5 separate regions of the Homo sapiens genome follow, and regions 2, 3, 4 and 5 are each linked to region 1. The links are contacts of gene promoters, found by promoter capture Hi-C in blood cells and fetal thymus (Javierre and others, 2016). All regions are on one chromosome and are shown on one strand. Each heading gives the region's core, a stretch centred on a gene start or on the middle of the fragment in contact. The rest is flanking DNA. Distances are from core to core; before and after follow the strand shown.

Region 1 (3,766 bases), core at 364-2,863:
TAGAGATGAGGTTTCACCATGTCGGCCAGGCTGGTCTTGAACTCCCGACCTCAGGTGATCCACCCGCCTTGGCCTTCCAAAGTGCTGTGATTACAGGCATGAGCCACCGCACCTGGCCAATTATCTCTAATTTTATACTCACTACTTTTATTAACTTTTATCAAAGATAACTTTTTTTTTTTTTTTTTTTTTGGAGACAGACTCTCATTCTGTTGCCCAGGCTGGAGTGCAATGGCGCAGTCTTGGTCCACTGCAACCTCCGCCTCCCGGGTTCAAGCAATTCTCCTGCCTCAACCTCCCGAGGAGCTGGGACTACAGGCGCCCGCTACCACGCCCAGCTAATTTTTGTATTTTTAGTAGAGACGGGGTTTCACCATATTGGCCAGGCTGGTCTGGAACTCCCGACCTTGTGATCCGCCTGCCTGGGCCTCCTAAAGTGCTGGGATTACAGGCGTGAGCCACCATGCCCAGCCAAATTTTTGTATTTTTAGTAGAGACTGGGTTTTGCCATGTTGGCCAGGCTGGTCTCGAACTCCTGACCTCAAGTGATCCACCTGCCTCAGCCTCCTAAAGTGCTGGGATTTCAGGAGTGAGCCACCACGCCCGGCCAAAGATAACTTTTTAAAAGAAAACTAAGAGGTTAATCAAGGTTAACTGGCAAAGTAGAGGGTGTCTCGACTGATGCCAGAAGCCAAGCAATCATCCATTCTGCCACACTTTCCCACCTGTGGGCTCCTCCAGCGCAAGGCCAGCATCTTGCCCATCTCTGTGTCCCCCATAACGTTCTGTCCATGGCTGATGTTTAATGCTTACACGCCCACCTAAACTGATTTGAGGTGGATCGCCTCAAAGACCTACCTGAGTGCAATGCAAAGGTGACCTCGCTATCGTCGGGGCCCTCCATGCTGCCGACCACCCCTTCCTGGGGTTCTAGAACCCAGCCCTCTTCGTTGCCCTCTTCCTCCTCTTCTTCCTCAAAGTCCACATCTTCCATCTCCTGGGCCAGGTCATCTGCTTTGGGGAGAGGGTTAGAAGATGGGGCTCGGGAGGCGGTAAGAGGTACGGAGAGAAGCATGAGGAGGCCTGAGGCTGGGGCGGGTCATGTGGCGAGAAGGGAAGGTGGAGTCAGACACACCGGGGTCCGCGGGGGCGCGCGGGACACAGGACGGGAGGCCACGGCTGGCCAGAGACCGTGCGGTAAGGGAGGGCCAAGGGGATGATGGGAAGGGGGTGTGTGAGGGGAAGGGCCAGAGGAGGCGTCAGGGAACCCCCACCCCAGCCAGGCCTGAGAACTAAGTGTGAGGGTGGGAGTGGGGGAGGAGGGGAAGAGGGATATCGGTAGGAATGACCAGTCGGGTGTGGAGGGGAGCGGGGAAAAGCAGGAGTCAGAGGCCAGGGGTGAGCGTCTCCTGTCCCATGGCCTGAGGAGCGGCAGTTCTCACCTGGGTCCGGCGGACCGGGATCAAGTTCTACCACCTCGATAATCTCTTCATCACCATGGAAGCTTAGGGTCTCCAGTGGGGGGGTGTCAGCAGCAGCCCCGCTTTCCGATTCGGACTCCATGCGGCGCAAGCGGCGGATCCACTTCTCTGGGCCCAAACGCCTCCCAGAGTCAGCTCTGCGCGACGACGCGGAACTCGAGCCCCTCCTCCCGGCAGGAAGTAGGCGTAGGCGACTCCCCAGCAGGAAGAGCGACGGCCGTTCGGCCAATAGCTACGAAGGTTGGCTGGCCGCCTCACCAATCACAGAGCGGCATTGGAAGATGGGGCCGGGGCGTGGCGGAGAGAACCCAAACTCCGCCCCACCTGACTCCGCCCCCAACTGGAGGGAAACAAGCGAGCGCGCGCGCCTCCGGGGTCTCCTGGGAAGAGTAGTTCTCCTGGGTCCGCTCTGCGGGCTTCTGGGAGATGTAGTTTCTGGTCTGTAGGCAGGACGGAAGGAGCGGGGGAGGCCCCTTACGCAAACTACAATTCCCGGCGGGGAGCGCGGTGAAGCGGGGGTGGGATCTGAACATGGCGGCGGTGGTAGCTGCTACGGCGCTGAAGGGCCGGGGGGCGAGAAATGCCCGCGTCCTCCGGGGTAAGGAGAGGGACCCCGGGGAGGGCAGGACTGCAGAAGATCCCTTTTCTTTCACGTCCAGCCCGACGATAGCAGGAGGTCAGGGCTCTTGGTTCCTCCCCACACTTTTCTGCAAGATCTTAGAGTCTGGGGGTGCAGAGATGCTCTTTAGAGGTCACCCAGTGCATCCCCCCGCCTTCGGGTTGCTCGACACCTCCGGGGTCTTGCTGCAAGAGGGAGCTCCTAGGAAGCCTGTTGGACTCCCGCGCTCCAGGTGTTTCACACTCACCGCAGTGCAGAGGAAAGAGCCCCGGGCTTCTGGAGGTTTGAGTTCCAGCCCCGGATAATTAGCAGTTTGACCTTGGGCAAAGCAGTTTTTCTCTCAGGGCTTCAGTTTCCTCTTCCGTACAGTGCAAGGGATGGAGTAGACTATCTTTAAGGTCCCTTCCAGTGCTAACATTTGCAGTTTCAAAACCTTTTCCCGGATTTCCTTCATACGTCTTATGTGAGTCCCACTGCAGTCCTTCCCATGCTGTCGTCTGAGGAAGAACAGCGAAGCTTTTCGTCCTGGCACCAGGGTGATGAGCCCGCAGTGACGTGGAAGTGGCTTCCAAAGGTGCCACCTCGGTGGCGATTTTCCCATTTCCCTTTGGATTCTCCTTGGCACTTCTTACTTCAGACTGCAGTCACTCCCCTTCCCCAGATCTCAGCCGCTCCTCCCAAGCCCTTACTGCCCCCCACCTCCCCGCTTGCTTTCTTCTCATCTCTTCTTACTGACCTTCCTTACCTCCATCCACAGGGATTCTCGCAGGAGCCACAGCTAACAAGGCTTCTCATAACAGGACCCGGGCCCTGCAAAGCCACAGCTCCCCAGAGGGCAAGGAGGAACCTGAACCCCTATCCCCGGAGCTGGAATACATTCCCAGAAAGAGGGGCAAGAACCCCATGAAAGCTGTGGGACTGGCCTGGTGAGTTTTAACCACCCCTTTGCCCACCAACGGGGCGTGGCTTGTAGGGGAGGGCAGGACTTAGAAACTTCTCCAAGTTTCAGGTGGCGAGCTGAATCCAAAGTTGTGGGAACAGAATTGTTGGGTTCGATTGGAATCTCAGAGGGGTGGGGCAGTGGAGGTGGGAAAGTATGTGGAATTGAGAAGACAGTGGGTTTACTGTGGAGTAAGCTGAGTTGATCTGATTCAGACTTGGGTCCCTGGCCTCATCCTCCCTTTTGGGAGCTTGGAGTGAGACCCAAGTTTAAGTAAGTAGTTCGTTGAGATCATGTGAGCTTGTACTAGTTGTATAGTAGTACTCAGAAGGCGTTATGAACATTGTGATTGGGCTCTGACTCTGACCTTAATACATATTATTGACCAATATTAAAGAGAAAGGAGGAAGAAATCAACATTTTTTTCTGCATGTGAGGTGTGCCAGTACTTTGCCATGTAATGTTTTAGTGTTTGAGATAAGTATTACATCCCCATTTCACAGAGGAAGGAACTGAGACTGAGCTAGGATTCTCACCTAGTCTGTGACTCCATGCTCTTTCCCCCATACCAAAGTGCCTCCCAAGCAGTGGTTACTTAGCTTAAGAGGGGAAAACTGGGAGGGTACCTTGGCCAAGTCTCAGAGAGGGAAAGCGTCAGGGCTGCCTGGAAAATCCTGCACAGGTGCTGTTGCAGGAATGCAGGGCTCGTGCTGAGGATCAGGCTCT
Region 2 (3,766 bases), core at 472-2,971, 980 kb after region 1:
TGAGTAGCTTAGTCAAAGCTGCCTAGCCGGTTTGCTAGGCAAGGGCCTCTGGGTGGAGACACCTGAGGAAGCTTTGAGACAGGTAGATTACAGGTCTCCCATCCTCAGCCTAGGGGCGAGGGGAGTGGAGGTGGCAGCGGCAGCTGTTTTGGCCTGTGTCTCCCTGATCGTTCAAGCTCATACATGGTTAATGATTAATGAGGCAGTGTGGTGTGGCAGTATCCAGCTGCCACTTCCTGCCTACTCTGCTGAGTAAACAGGGGCCCTGTCTTAGCTGGGCTTCAAACCTGTTCCCTAGGGAAGGGCTCTGTTCCCTGAATCACCAGGGAGGAAAGGCAAGGGCAGGGTTGGCATCTCCTGCTCTTTTGTGATCCAAGCCTCCTCCCCCGAACCATGTCTACCCCACAGTATGACATCAGCATGGGGCCTGGGGCTCCTGTTAGCAAAGTTGAAGCTTTCCCCAGGGCCCTAGCAGGAGTCTCCCACTAGCTAGCACAGAGGCTGAGGCCAGAAAGAAATCACAAACAGAGGGGAGATGACCTGACTTTTAATGGCACAGCCCCAGCTCCAGCAAAGCAGCAAGACAGGAAGCTATGCAAAGCTGCTCAGAGGTGCAGTGGCACAAACAACTCTAGGAGATCGCCTGTGTTCCCTCCCATCCCCCAAGCTTATGACGTGGCTCCATGCCCAGGAACTCTGGGCCAGCCCAGCCCCACTCCCAAACCCTCATAATGCACAGAGGAGCCTGGGCCAAGCCTTGCTTCCAGAGTTGGTAAATGTAGAGGCAGCAGGAAGAACAGGGTAGCAGTCTAACTTTCAAAGACAGAAACCACTGGATTATACTCCTACTTGGAAAGGAGCTGAAGACTCATCCTTCAACAGTTTGTGCCTGGATTTTGGTCCTCATTTCCTCCCTATACTGAGTAACCCTAGGACTTCAATTTAAAGTCCCTGGGGTTATGCTTCCTGGGCCTGGCAAGAACCCCTTTGCAGGTCTCACCTTCAGCGATGGAAGGGATAAGGGTCATGAACAGCAAACAGAGCAGCAGCAGCATGAAGGGGAAGGCAGCAGAAGCTCAAGCACTCAGAGGGAACAAGAAACCGTGCAAGGAAACTGTTTATTTCGAAAGGATTTTGCAATAAACATAGTGAATAGGCTCCAGGCAGCTGCTTTATTCTTCTCCCTCATCCTCGTCCTCATAGGAGTCGATGCCCACCTCCTCATAATCCTTCTCCAGGGCAGCCATATCCTCACGGGCCTCGGAGAACTCACCCTCCTCCATGCCCTCACCCACATACCAGTGCACAAACGCCCTCTTGGCATACATCAGGTCGAACTTGTGGTCCAGGCGGGCCCAGGCCTCGGCGATGGCGGTCGTGTTGCTCAGCATGCACACGGCACGCTGCACCTTGGCCAGGTCACCCCCAGGCACCACAGTGGGAGGCTGGTAGTTGATACCAACCTTGAAGCCTGTGGGGCACCAGTCCACAAACTGAATGCTGCGCTTGGTCTTGATGGCGGCAATGGCAGCGTTGACATCCTTGGGCACCACATCTCCACGGTACAGCAGGCAGCAGGCCATGTACTTGCCGTGCCGGGGATCACACTTTACCATCTGGTTGGCAGGCTCAAAGCAGGCATTGGTGATCTCTGCCACCGACAGCTGCTCGTGGTATGCCTTTTCTGCAGAGATGACTGGTGCATAGGTGGCCAGGGGGAAGTGGATGCGAGGGTAGGGCACCAGGTTGGTCTGGAACTCTGTCAGGTCCACATTGAGGGCCCCGTCAAAGCGCAGAGAAGCTGTGATGGAGGAGACAATTTGGCTAATGAGGCGATTGAGGTTGGTGTAGGTTGGGCGCTCGATGTCTAGGTTGCGGCGGCAGATGTCATAGATTGCTTCGTTGTCCACCATGAAGGCACAGTCTGAGTGCTCCAGGGTGGTGTGGGTGGTCAGGATAGAGTTGTAGGGCTCGACCACGGCTGTAGACACCTGGGGGGCTGGGTAGATGGAGAATTCCAGCTTGGATTTCTTGCCATAGTCAACAGAGAGCCGCTCCATCAGGAGTGAGGTGAAGCCAGAGCCAGTGCCCCCACCAAAGCTGTGGAACACCAGGAAGCCCTGAAGTCCTGTGCACTGGTCAGACTGAAAGGCAAGAACGAGAAAGAACAGTTTAGGTAGGGGAGGGGCCTGAGGGACTCTATCACCTGGCTCCATAAAGCGTAAGATACATCAGCAGTCAGGGCAAATACTGAGGATGCCATAGCAGCACCACACTCGAGACCATGTATAGTTAGAGATGACCTCCTGAAAGGATCTGAAAAAAAATATTCCTGACCATTAGCACAGTCTCAAAAGTTCCCTCCCTCCCAAGACACACTCTCACCAGCTTGCGGATCCGATCCAGCACTGGGTCAATGATCTCCTTGCCAATGGTATAGTGACCACGGGCATAGTTGTTGGCAGCATCCTCTTTCCCAGTGATGAGCTGCTCTGGGTGGAAGAGCTGTCGGTATGGGCCATTTCGGATCTCATCTGGAAGGGCAAAAACCACAAAGCTATGCTCAGCAGGGACCTTCCTCCCCCAGGGTGGTAGCTGTGGCCAGATGCATGGAAGGACTCATCCTCCTGCCAGCCTGAGATACCAGAGTGTGAGAGAAACCCAGACCAGCTGCCCAGGCCAGTCTCAGATCAGCTTGCCTTCTGCAGCTTCAAGTACGGCTAGGAATTTTCAGGGCTAGGAATGCCTGGTCTAAATACCCTCTCTCTCCAGGGAGAAGCTTTGAGTCATGCTCCACCCCCTTCAATTTTGTCCCCACTTCCTCTCACCAATGACCGTAGGCTCCAGATCCACAAAAACTGCCCGGGGTACGTGTTTTCCAGCACCAGTTTCACAGAAGAAGGTGGTGAAGGAGTCGTCCCCTCCACCAATGGTCTTGTCACTGGGCATCTGCCCATCAGGCTGAATCCCATGTTCCAAGCAATAGAGCTCCCAGCAGGCATTGCCCATCTGGACACCTGCCTGCCCCACGTGGACTGAGATGCATTCACGCTGAGGGATAGAGAGAGGGGACACAGCATGAGCCCCACATCCACAAGTCCTCACCTTGCGAGTCTCTCTTCCACCCTATCATCTACCAGCTAGGATGACTCAGTTGGCAAGAGTGGAGGGTTGGGGCTGGGCAGAGGTGAGAAGAGAGTAGCAGCCTGCCCGGGCTCCCAGGTACAGGACTCCCCACCTGGAGGCACCCAGCAATGCAGGCCAACCTCTTAGCCCACTTCTCAGTGGGGAATCTGTCAAGTGAGCACTGTGGCTCCACATGACAAAAGGTTTCCTAGAGGTATGGGTTTACAGCTAGAGGCCCCCCCCCCACTTGATTAATTATTTGCTTTGAGTATGAACAGCTAGAATTCATAGAACCCTTTCCCTCTTTCTTTCCTGTAAGCTGCAGAGGTGTCTCAGCCATCCAATCTGGCATCAACTGACCACACGCCATCAGGATGCCCTCCTCCCTCACCTTTAAATCCCATCTGGCTCTGGGGATCAATCCCATCTGGCTCCTCTCCCCACCTCCACCCCCGCACCCTGGGTGTCTTCACCACTTTCATCTCCCGTGTCAGCCCGCACGGAAATAGCGGCGGTAATGCTTGTAAGCTCAGACAGCAGGGGCCAGCAATAAGGTTTGAGGGTACTGGGGCGCTCACTGCCTTAGGCTCCGTCCCTGTCAGCCCGAAATTAACCCCTAAAGCACTAAAGTCCGGCAGGG
Region 3 (3,766 bases), core at 491-2,990, 640 kb after region 1:
AATTGCAAACAACAGAAACAGACTCTGGTTCACTTAGTAGAAGAGGAATTTACTGGGATGACATCAGGGAACTCAAAGAATTGACAGGAAGCCTCAAGAATCAGGCTCAGGAAGCAAGCAGGAGCCAAGAGAAGCTAGGCAGCTAGAACTTTAGCTAAATCCTGTCCCAAGTGCAGCCTGATTAAGGGGCTTGGGGGCTGCTTCCCACATGGCTACCACCACCCTGAGCACTTGCTGCTGCCACCTCTGGGATGAATTATAAACAGTCCTCTTCCTCCTTGGGTCACTTGTTGAAGATTTAGAGTCCTGACTGGGAGCATTGATTTGGCTGTGATCTTCCTGCTAGGGGCCAGGTGAGCAAGTATCTGACTTCTCACTAAGACTCACATTAGGGAGGCTCCACCAACATATGAAGGGGGCTCAGATGCTGGGCAGCTAAAGACTCCAGTGTGTATCCATATGCAGGTTCCTGAGCATTGAAGCCCTCCACCATATGCCACAAACGATCATCTCCAGTTTTTTCTCACTTCCACACCATGTTCCACTGAAGCATGACTGTGTGCAGTTCCCTGAGCAGTCCTTTCCTGCCTCAGCCCCTGTAATAGCTGGGCCCCAAAGGTGGTCCGCCTTGAATCATGCTTCACACCTGTGTATTGTCCCCTCCCCTTGAAAGGGCCAGTCCATGCTTCCTTTTCACTGAGTGTGCTGTGGAAGCGAAGCTGCATGACTGCTGAAGAGAGGGAATAGGAAGCTTTGCAGTTTTTGCCTCAGTCGCTCGGAATGTTCACTCTGGGGCAAGCCAATCACCGTGTATGAGGTCTGTCTACCCAGAGACTACCATGCTATGAGGAACCCGAAACAAGCCACATGGGAAGGCTGTATAGAGAGAGTAATGCCTGGGCAGGCCCCTTCAGTTCCAGCCAATTCAGATGAGGTGCCAGACATGTGACTTTAAAAAGTCATCTTGGGGCTGGGCTCAGTGGTTCACACCTGTAATCTCAGCACTTTGGGAGGCCGAGGCAGGCGGATAACTTGAGGCCAGGAGTTCAAGACCATCCTGGCCAACATGGCGAAACCCCATCTCTACTAAAAATACAAAAAATTAGCCAGACATAGTGGCACATGCCTGTAGTCCCAGCTTCTCGGGAGGCTGAGGCATGAGAATCACTTGAACCTGGGAGGTGGAGGTTGCAGTGAGTGAGATTGCGCCACTACAGTCCAGCCTGGGTGACGAAGTGAGGCTGTGTCTTCAAAAATAAATAAATAAATAAATAAATTTTTAAAAAGTCATCTTGGATATCCAGCCGAGTTGAGCCTTCAGATGACTCCAGCCTTAGCCACCATCTAACTGAACTGCTTGAGAGACCCCACGTGAGAACTGCCCAGCTGACTGTAGTCAACCCACAGGACTGTGGGATGTAAATGGTTATTTTTAAGCCACTGAATTTTGGAGCGGTTTGTTACTCAGTAATAGAAAATGGAAACAGCCCCTCTGTGGTCCATGTTTCCCTCTCTCTGGAATGTACCCCAACTGTCCTGCCTTAGCTCCATGTCCACTCATATCTGCTCTTGTCAAAATCCTTCCAGTGAGCATGGCACAGTGCAGAGGAAAGAGCCAGGCTTTGGGGTCAGCCTGTGCGGCGGGAGGGATTGAATCCTAGTTTAGTCTCTCACTATCCCTGTGACCTAAGGCAAAGTCATTAAGTTCTCTGGACCTCAGTTTCTGTATCTGCTATATTGAAATAAAAACACTCATCTGCTGAAGTTGTTTTGAGGACTAGATGTAATATATGTAAAGTACCTAGACGTCTCACCCATTTTAGTCTCACTGAATGGTGGCCTTTAGCAGACACTTAGCCTTCTAGCCTGGCATCAAATGGCACTTCTGAGGTCTAATTCTCATCACTTATAAATTATATGGTTTTGGAAAATTCCTTAAATTTCTCTGAGCCTTACTCTCCTCATATGTAACATACCTAGACCCTTAAGCCATGTCCCTTAACCGGCATGGCATCAGAAATCCTTGGAAGAGGAAGTAAACCATGGCCACAGTTGGGGTTCCCCAGTGTCTGGTGGGCTGGGGGTCTGTAGTGGATGGCAGACTGCAGGGGAGGAACAACAGAGGCCGGAGAGCTCATCACCCTGAGTGAGAAAAAGGTTTCACTGGACAGGGAAGGGGTCCGCCGAACAGGGCAGAGGGAGGAGTGCTATTTGGAATGTTGTGAGGCTGGGCATGACCACTGGGGCTTGGTGCACCTCTACCCTCACTCCCTCAGGCCTCAGGGCCTTCCTGGTGGAAAGGGAAACATTTGGGGTATAGGGCAAGAACGGGCTCGCTAGGGCACAGACATCTCTGCTGTGGGAACTCCTTATGAAAGAGCTGAGAATGAGAAACAGAACATGCTTCCCCACCTCAAGGAGAGAGAGATGTCAGAGAACCATGGACCAGGGGGCAGGCAGAGAGGCAGCAAGTGACGGTGAGATGAGTGGCATTGGCAGCAGCCCCGACCATGTGGGCAGCAACCCCACCCGGCTTCTTCTCAGACTCTCACTGAAGGTGAGGGCACGTGGAGATGTGGGAAGTTCCAGATGAGAGCACACTGTATGATCCCAGTGGCAGCTGCAAAAACAGGCAAAGTTAACTTATGCAGTTGGAAGGCAGGATAGTGGCCTGTAATCCCAACCCAGGAGGTCGAAGCTACAGTGAGCTATGATCATGCCACTGCACTTAAGCTTGGGTGACAAAGTGAGACCCCATCTCCAAAAAATAAAATAAATAAAATAAAATAAAATAAATAAAATGAAATAAAAAGGCATGATAGTGGTTATCCCTGTAGGAGATGCAGTGAATAGAGGGAAACAGGAGAAGGGTTTGGGGAGCTGGTAATGATTTGTTTCTTCCTCAGGGACCTGATTACACTACTTTGTTCATTGTGTTAAAAGTTAAGTGCACATAGGATTTGTGTATTTTTCTGTACGTTACTTCAATAACAAGTTAAGTCTGGGTGTGGTGGCTGTAATCCCAGCACTTTGGGAGGCCAAGGCGGGTGGATCACGAGGTCAGGAGATCGAGACCATCCTGGCTAACACGGTGCAACCCCATCTCTACTAAAAATACAAAAAATTAGCCGGGCGTGGTGGCGGGCGCCTGTAGTTCCAGCTACTCGGGAGGCTGAGACAGGAGAATGGTGTGAACCCGGAAGGCGGAGCTTGCAGTGAGCCGAGATTGTGCCACTGCACTCCAACCTGGGTGACAGAGCAAGACTCTGCCTAAAAAAAAAACCAAACAAACCCAAGTTAAAACACGTGCACATGCACACACACACAGCCGTTTTGGGAAGAAGAGAAACAGTCATTTCCCAGTTCAAGCCCTTTGAAGTGGCACCACATAGTGAAGTGGGTAAGAGATTAGGGGGCTGGCTAGGTGCGGTGGCTAATGCCTGTAATCCCAACACTTTTTGGGAGGCCGAGGTGGGCGGATCACCTGAGGTCAGGAGTTCGAGACCAGCCTGGCCAACATGGTGTAACCCCATTTCTAGTAAAAAAAATACAAAAAATGTAGCTGGGTATGGTGGTATGTGCCTGTAATCCCATCTACCCAGGAGGCTGGGGCAGGAGAATCGCCTGAACCCGACAGGCAGAGGTTGCAGTAAGCCGAGATCACGCCACTGCACTCCAGCCTGGGCAATAAGAGTGAAAACTTTGTCTCAAAAATAAATAAATAAGATTAGGGGGCTGGAGGCAAGGACCACATGGTGTCTGGCCA
Region 4 (3,766 bases), core at 676-3,175, 620 kb after region 1:
GCACGTGGCTATGACAGCTGTCAGAGGCCACAGGGTGGTGTAGGGAAGGTGTCTTTAGCTGCATGGGGTAGGGGTGTTCTCTGCCGCGGTGGGGTACGTTTCTCCAGTTTCCCCAGGCTTACCCTTAAATGTGACAGGGCCTAGAAGATGGTGGTTGGCACTGTACACATCCCTGGACCAGCCTCATCCTCTTTCCTGGTGCCATGCACAGACAAGTCGATAGGAACTAGAAACTGAGCTACCTGGGTTTCTTTCGCAGCAGCAGGACTCCCTTTGAGTCACATGTCCTACAATAGAAAGATGCCAGACCTGGGAGCTGGGAGAGCTGGGTCTGGATGCAGCTCCATAACTTCTGTGACCTGTGTTTTCTCCTTTTGCATAATGTGTATGTGTTTGGTAGTGGTGGCAGTGTGTGTGTGTGGGTGATTTCTGAGACCTGGGCTGCCTCTGGAGGTCTGAGTATTGCCATTGTGTCCTAGGAGCAGGCTGATGACTCCCCGGCAATAAGAGAAATGCTCAAAGTTCCACAGATAAAAGGCAAGGGATAAATGCAGGATGTGCTTCCCAGGAGCTTGGTTCCATCCTCCTTCCCCTTAGGTTCCACTTCCCCAGGGCAGTTTCTACTCCTCTGCAGCTCCTGCTAATTCCCAGCATCCCCATAGAAGGTTCCAGCCCCATCCCCAGCCCCTCTTCTCTGCTCATAGCTGAGCTCCTTATGCAAAAATGTACTGAGATGCCATGAGATGGAAAGAGAGAGGGACAGTCTGCTTCATAGGCATCTGGTGGCCCAAGTGACCTATTCTAAAGTGGGTCATGAGCTGCTGGGCTTTGTCCCTGATCAGGGTGAAACAAAAAACAATGGCCCAAAAAATGCAGCAGGAGTGAGTGAGGTCAGATAGCAGAAAGAACTTCTCAATAATAGCTAATGTTTGAGTAATACTTCCTCGATTAGTAAGGCACTATTCTAAGCACTTTAAATTTACCAGTTCATTTAATTCTTGGAACAACAATGAGGCAGATAATAGCTCTATTTTATAGGTAAGGAAACTGAGGCACAGGGAGGTTAAGTCACTTGGCCAAGGTCACATAGCTATTAGCAGCTAGTAAGTGGAAGAGCCAAGATTTGAAGTAAACTGGTTTCAGGAATTAGTTCTTAACTACTAAACAGCTTGTTCTGTTTCTTTCTGTTATTTTTTGTTTGTTGGTTGTTTTTGGTTTTGGTTTTTTTGTTTGTTTTGGCAGGAAGGGGAGGACAGGGCTCTGTGATGCAGTGGGTGAGGATTAAGGTGGGATTGGCCCAGGCCTCTGGCTTCTCTTGCTGCCTGCCCCCTCTCTGGTGTGCGGAGGCTGGTTGGAGACTTGTACCAGAACTTGTTCCTAGCTGGTCCATTCTCAGATGCAGAATAAGCAAAAGATAGCTTGCATGTCTGAGAATGGGACCCTCCTTTGCAAGTAGGCCTCCCCCTGCCACAGGTCCAGGTGTTCCCAGAGAATGGCTCAGGTTGGAGCACCAAGAAGGAAGGCAGTGTGGACAAGCCAGTGGCCAGGCCGGCCTAGCCGCGGCCCCCAAGAGTGGCTTGGTCAGGGAAAATCTGTGCCTCCTGAACATCTGGTGGAAGGTATCTGCCTCAGCTTGCCCTTCCTTCTCCATGTTCAACACTACTACATGCCAGACCCCATGCAGGACCCTGGGCTTCCCTCTAGCGTACCTCCAACAGCCTCTGCAGCTGACCTGGGTGGGTCACAGGCAAGGTGGCTGGGTAGCGCCCATTTCTGAGTGGCTTTCAGGGATGTCCTGTGGACAAGCAAGGGGAAGCTCTGGTGACCCATTTCTTTGCCTCTGGAGTCTGGTCATTAGGGAGGATCCTATGCTGTGCCTAAGATGGGCACGCACCCAGCAGGCTATCTTGGGGCAGGGAGCATTAGGAGCTGACCGTCTCCTCTTACTTACTCTGCTGCCCACTGACATCTCCTAAGGCCTGGAATTTCATCATTGACAATTTATTCTCTTTTTTTCCAAAATTGTGTACATTTTATTTTATGAAATATCATTTTATTTATTTATTTATTTATTTCAATAGGTTTCTGGGGAACAGATGGTGTTTGGTTACATGAATAAGTTCTTTCGTGGTGATTTCTGAGATTTTGGTGCACCCATCACCCAAGCAGTGTACACTGCACCCAATGTGTAGTCTTTGATCTGTCACCTCACACCCAACCTTTCCCCAAGTCCCCAAAGTCCATTGTGTCATTCTTATGCCTTTGCATCCTCATGGCTTAGCTTCCACTTATAAGTGAGAACATACGATGTTTGGTTTTCCATTCCTGAGTTACTTCACTTAGAATAATAGTCTCAAATTCCATCCAGGTTGCTGTGAATGCCATTATTTTGTTCCTTTTTATGGCTGAGGAGTATTCCATGGCATATTTATACTGCAATTTCTTTATCCACTTGTTGGTTGATGGGCATTTGGGCTGGTACCATATTTTTGCAATTACAAATTGTACTGCTGTAAACATGCGTGTGCAAGTATCTTTTTCGTATAATGACTTCTTTTCCTCTGGGTAGATACCCAGTAGTGGGATTACTGGATCAAATGGTAGTTCTACTTTTAGTTCTTTGAGGAATCTCCACACTGTTTTCCATAGTGGTTGTACTAGTTTACATTCCCACCAGCAACATCACTGGCAATGAATTCTTTAGCTTAAATGTTGCCCTCATTCTGTGGGCTTATTTTAAAATTGCAGATACCACTGTGAGAGGTAATAGATTAAGTCCCTGATTGTAAAAAGAATGTGTTTACCTGATACTTTCTGCTCTACAGTAGAGATGTAGACACACAAATTCTGAGTTTGCTAAAGGTGATGTTAAAGAACAGGAGAAGGGCGTACAAAAAGCAGAGGGCTATTGGGAAGCCTCCCTCCCACCCCACCAGGTTCTGTTTGCAGAAGAACTGGCTTCTGGCGTGATTTCTGCCCTTCTTTGACTCTGTTTCCTTGTGCCAGACTCTCCTGCATACTGGGCTTCAGTTTCTCCTTGGAATGATGAGAAAGGTGGGCTGGAGAATGGGGTGTCAAGGCCCCTCCAGAGTCCATGTGTTCTGGGTCTTTAACCACAGGTTTCCGAGAGAGCGCTTTTGCCTACGCCATCGCAGCAGCTGGCGTGGTGCACGCCGTGTCCAATGCGTGTGCCCTGGGCAAACTGAAGGCCTGTGGCTGTGATGCGTCCCGGCGAGGGGACGAGGAGGCCTTCCGTAGGAAGCTGCACCGCTTACAACTGGATGCACTGCAGCGTGGTAAGGGCCTGAGCCATGGGGTCCCGGAACACCCAGCCCTGCCCACAGCCAGCCCAGGCCTGCAGGACTCCTGGGAGTGGGGCGGCTGCAGCCCCGACATGGGCTTCGGGGAGCGCTTTTCTAAGGACTTTCTGGACTCCCGGGAGCCTCACAGAGACATCCACGCGAGAATGAGGCTTCACAACAACCGAGTTGGGAGGCAGGTGAGAGCCCCACCCCTGGGTCTGCTTCAAATCTCTTTGCCTAGGGCCTACCCCTTGCCCTGGCCTACCTCTCTTCTGAGGACCACGTTGCTCCCACATGTCACACCTTGGCAATCTTCTCGTTGACCCTGTCTAATTCAACAAACATGCACTGAGTATGCACTGTGCACCAGGCACTGGACTAGGCCTGGGGATACAGGGCAGAAACAAGCCCTGTTGCCCTGGATCAGCATACCACCTGCTGAGCAACCTGCTTCTCCTACTTCC
Region 5 (3,766 bases), core at 787-3,286, 600 kb after region 1:
ATGTATTTAGGATGGGAGCAAGGACAGGAGGGCAGGGAACAAACTGGTCCCTTGGGATTCTAGCTGCTACTACTGCCCATCCCTCCCCCTGACCAGCTTGTAAACAAGTCTAGTTCCCAGGCAGCCAGCCAGCCTGGGGAGCCAGACCCAGACCAGGAACTGGCTCTGGGGCAGTCCCCCAGCCCCAGCCCTACCTCCTGAAAGTCCCTGGCCTCCATACTCCTCGTGATTCTCCCGTCTCTAGTCCCTGCGAAACAGAGAAGGTCAAGAGGTTTTTGTCTTTCTGTCTTGCTCATCTCCACTCCCTCCTGCCTTCTTAAGGGAGGAGGAGGGAGAGGAGAAGGATGGGGCAGAGTAACCTTGGGAAGATAAGGCCAGGCAACCCTGGGAAACTAGGGAGTTAGCAGAGGGCAGGGTTGAGGAGGAGGGACTGGGGAACTTAGAAGTAAGGGAAGTGGGGGTGGGGAAGATGAGCTTGCAGAGCCCCCGACTCACAGGTGGAGCCCCAGACATAAGGGGCTGGACGACTGCAGAGAGGACTCATTCCCTGCCTGATTCCCAGTGGGGGAAAAGAGCATGTTTGAGGAAATGAATTAGGAGTCATGAAATAAGATGTGGACAGGGGCCTGGGCTCAAGTGAGAACTTTCTCTTAGATGGCTTATTTACTCATTCAAAACCACATATTAGATGGTGTTCATTGTATAATATACTACAGGTATTACATGTGACACAGAATTCATACTATGCAATTTTTTGTAATGAAAATTGGGGTTGGGGGAGGATATAAACTAAGTACCTAAGTCTTCCAGGAGATGCAAAGGAAAATAAGGCAGTCTTAATGCTCAAGAAGCTCATAGTCTTATCTCCTGACCCTGCACAGCCATGTTGGAAGCTGCCTCCAATCCTTCTTATAATGAGGTGGGATATATGGGCAGAGGAGGGACAGATAGATTGATGGATCAATAGAGACCGATCAGCTCTCAAAAGTCACTGGGTCATTGGGGTGCCCTGACCCACCCTCCATTGCTTTACTTATCTAGGCTGGGAAAGGGTGGGGGCCAGTGCTGGGCTGGTCTTAAGCACGCAGGAAGGAAGATGTGGACTGTGGCCTCTCCATTGAGAGACATCTGATTCCTGAGCTACTTGGGTACGGATGACGGCAGCAACTTGATTTTGTGTGTGTGCGTGCGCATGCGTGCACGCATGAGAATGCACGTGCACACACACGTGTTTGTGTTGTAGACCATAAAGGACTGAGCTTACTACACATCTTCCTGTACCACCTCTTCAAGCATCTCCATCCTTAGTGTTGAGAGTTCTACCTTAAGACCTAAATTCCTCTTGCTTCTATTTAAGACCATCACATTTCATTGTTGTGGAGCCAGAACATTCCTGGGCAGCCTGTACTTGTGGAGCAAATGGGGACAGTGGGGCGGATATGCACTAAAGCAAAACTGAAAAGTAGGCCACCTTGACCTCTGGCACCACCTACCACCATTCTCTATGTTTTCTCTCTCCTGGGACCCCTACCCCCACCCTGTCCTCTGCTGAAGAGCTTTTGGGTGGTCTCTAATTACCCTCTGCTCCCAGATGCTCTACTCATTCATTTGAGATGGGAATCCCAGCTAAGTGTTCAAATAGGAGCATTCTGATGAGAGCAGTTCCCCCAGGTATGAATCCCTAAGGAATTAACCTTCAGGGGTCTGGTATACCAAAACCAAATGTCAGCTCTCTCCTTGGGCAGAACGAAGGCCAGGAGTTGAGGGATTTCTGGAAGTGCGTGAGACTTCCCGTGAAGTCTTCCCCTACCAAGCCAAATATTGCCTGCACCCAGCAGTGATGTCACCCTAATGCGCAGGGCTTGGTTCACTGCCATTCTGCTCAGAGAAGGCAACAGATCCTTGGCCATGTGTGGTGGCTCATGCCTGTAATCCCAGCACTTTGGGAAGCCGAGGCAGGCAGATCACCTGAAGTCAGGAGTTTGAGACCAGCTTGGCCAACATGGTGAAACTTGTCTCTACTAAAAGTACAAAAAAATTAGCCAGGCCTGGTGGTGCACACCTGTAGTCCTAGCTATTTGGGAGGCTGAGGCATGAGAATCGCTTGAACCTGGGCAGTGGAGGTTGCAGTGAGCTGGGAGCCCGCCACTGCACTCCAGCCTGGGTGACAGAGCAAGACTCCATCTCAATTAAAAAAAAAAAAAAAAAGAACGAAAACCACAGATCCTGGAGCAAGAGAAGGGTCAGTGTCACCTACTTTCCAACAATGCTTCAGAGACCTGGCCCCCAGCTCCTTCTTCCTGCTCTCCAGTTCAGGGACATAGAAGATATCAGGGTAGGAGGGCCCACCTTAGAGATGAAAGCCCAACACACCCATTTTATAGAAGGAGAAACCTGGGCTATGGAGAGGGTGTGACTTTTCTCAGCTAGGCTCCATTCCCTAGCCGTTCCAACATCTCGTGGCATTCTCTCTCCCTGGGATTGTTCTTGCCTTTCATCCGGGCTGTTCAGCTGACACATATCCAGCTTGTGGTCCACTAGGACCATATCATTCCTTGATACTGCTTACTTTTCTTTGGTGTCTCTTGACGACACATGAATTTCCTTGACGGCCTTCTTGATCTTTCTTCTGTTATTTCTTTTCCTTGTCACCCTTTTGGGCTAGAAGTTTGAGTTTTAACTTTGACTTACCTGATGCCAGCTGCCTTCACCTTGAGTAAAATTTCTATAAGAATTTATTTACAAAGATGTGTGCAGGAAGATAAGATTGAATCTTTGCTCTGTAGCAATTATCAGACTAGACTCTAGTTAGAGGGGACACAGACATGGACTAGCAGGAGAGCCAGACAGGACAATCTCAAGCTCAGTTTGGAGGTAGGGTGGGAGGGCATGTCACAGCTCCCGCTGCGGGCTGAGTGGGGCTGGTCCTCCTCCCTTCCACCCCAAGCCCTTTTTTGGGTTACACCCCTGACCTGCTATTCTCTGCTTTCCAGGGCTGTGGGCAGCCCCTTGGTTATGGACCCTACCAGCATCTGCAGGAAGGCACGGCGGCTGGCCGGGCGGCAGGCCGAGTTGTGCCAGGCTGAGCCGGAAGTGGTGGCAGAGCTAGCTCGGGGCGCCCGGCTCGGGGTGCGAGAGTGCCAGTTCCAGTTCCGCTTCCGCCGCTGGAATTGCTCCAGCCACAGCAAGGCCTTTGGACGCATCCTGCAACAGGGTCAGTGTGGGGAGGGGGCGGAAGTGGGGCTGCTTTCTCCCTGCTGTGGGACCCGAGGAGAGGAGAACTGGTTCGCTGAAGTTGCCTGAGCCCCACTTCCCCCTCACATGTGTCTGGGCACCCTGCAAGGACCCTGCCTCCCAGGCCCCTGGGGCAGCCCTCCCGCCGCAGGTTTCAGGTCCCAGGCCCCAGCTGACCGCCCCAGCCCGCGCTGATTGCACCTGTCTGCATTCACAGACATTCGGGAGACGGCCTTCGTGTTCGCCATCACTGCGGCCGGCGCCAGCCACGCCGTCACGCAGGCCTGTTCTATGGGCGAGCTGCTGCAGTGCGGCTGCCAGGCGCCCCGCGGGCGGGCCCCTCCCCGGCCCTCCGGCCTGCCCGGCACCCCCGGACCCCCTGGCCCCGCGGGCTCCCCGGAAGGCAGCGCCGCCTGGGAGTGGGGAGGCTGCGGCGACGACGTGGACTTCGGGGACGAGAAGTCGAGGCTCTTTATGGACGCGCGGCACAAGCGGGGACGCGGAGACATCCGCGCGTTGGTGCAACTGCACA

Evidence for each region. The method cuts DNA at HindIII sites, captures the fragments that hold promoters and counts their contacts. A CHiCAGO score of 5 or more calls a contact.
Region 2: a contact is called between a fragment that was not itself captured here and the fragment with the promoter of AAMP in region 1, in 9 of 17 cell types (naive CD4 T cells, total CD4 T cells, total CD8 T cells and 6 more). The highest score is 12.5, in naive CD4 T cells.
Region 3: a contact is called between a fragment that was not itself captured here and the fragment with the promoter of AAMP in region 1, in 3 of 17 cell types (total B cells, total CD8 T cells and total CD4 T cells). The highest score is 5.6, in total B cells.
Region 4: a contact is called between a fragment that was not itself captured here and the fragment with the promoter of AAMP in region 1, in 8 of 17 cell types (naive CD8 T cells, total CD8 T cells, non-activated CD4 T cells and 5 more). The highest score is 10.5, in naive CD8 T cells.
Region 5: a fragment that was not itself captured here is called in contact with the fragment with the promoter of AAMP in region 1 in 2 of 17 cell types (total CD8 T cells and total B cells); the score reaches 6.0 in total CD8 T cells.

What each region holds. Positions count from the first base shown.
Region 1 is chr2:218,268,524-218,272,289 of GRCh38, forward strand. It overlaps AAMP (angio associated migratory cell protein), which reads right to left and starts at 1,614. Exons shown (of 11, transcript NM_001087.5): 1 at 1,443-1,614; 2 at 859-1,011. The coding sequence starts at 1,563. PNKD (PNKD metallo-beta-lactamase domain containing) reads left to right here and starts at 1,996. Exons shown (of 10, transcript NM_015488.5): 1 at 1,996-2,079; 2 at 2,858-3,026. The coding sequence starts at 2,013. RefSeq lists enhancers at 1-792, 1,361-1,680, 1,831-2,210, 2,241-2,290. The HindIII fragment of the contact is 1,112 bases long and covers 1,503-2,614 here.
Region 2 is chr2:219,249,180-219,252,945 of GRCh38, forward strand. It overlaps STK16 (serine/threonine kinase 16), which reads left to right. Exons shown (of 8, transcript NM_001330213.2): 8 at 1-1,158. It overlaps TUBA4A (tubulin alpha 4a), which reads right to left. Exons shown (of 4, transcript NM_006000.3): 2 at 2,829-3,051; 3 at 2,386-2,534; 4 at 531-2,144. The coding sequence ends at 1,173. Among named protein-coding and RNA genes, the nearest start is that of TUBA4B, 2.2 kb to the right of the region's middle. RefSeq lists enhancers at 804-893, 934-1,053. The HindIII fragment of the contact is 2,112 bases long and covers 666-2,777 here.
Region 3 is chr2:218,904,427-218,908,192 of GRCh38, forward strand. LINC01494 (long intergenic non-protein coding RNA 1494) reads right to left here. Exons shown (of 5, transcript NR_110238.1): 4 at 2,413-2,620. Among named protein-coding and RNA genes, the nearest start is that of LINC01494, 24 kb to the right of the region's middle. The HindIII fragment of the contact is 1,982 bases long and covers 750-2,731 here.
Region 4 is chr2:218,886,865-218,890,630 of GRCh38, forward strand. WNT10A (Wnt family member 10A) reads left to right here. Exons shown (of 4, transcript NM_025216.3): 3 at 3,120-3,499. Among named protein-coding and RNA genes, the nearest start is that of WNT10A, 7.9 kb to the left of the region's middle. RefSeq lists a silencer at 1-38. The HindIII fragment of the contact is 4,739 bases long and covers 1-3,766 here.
Region 5 is chr2:218,868,034-218,871,799 of GRCh38, forward strand. WNT6 (Wnt family member 6) reads left to right here. Exons shown (of 4, transcript NM_006522.4): 2 at 2,994-3,214; 3 at 3,452-3,766. Among named protein-coding and RNA genes, the nearest start is that of WNT6, 10 kb to the left of the region's middle. RefSeq lists a silencer at 3,474-3,543 and an enhancer at 3,622-3,766. The HindIII fragment of the contact is 4,184 bases long and covers 1-3,766 here.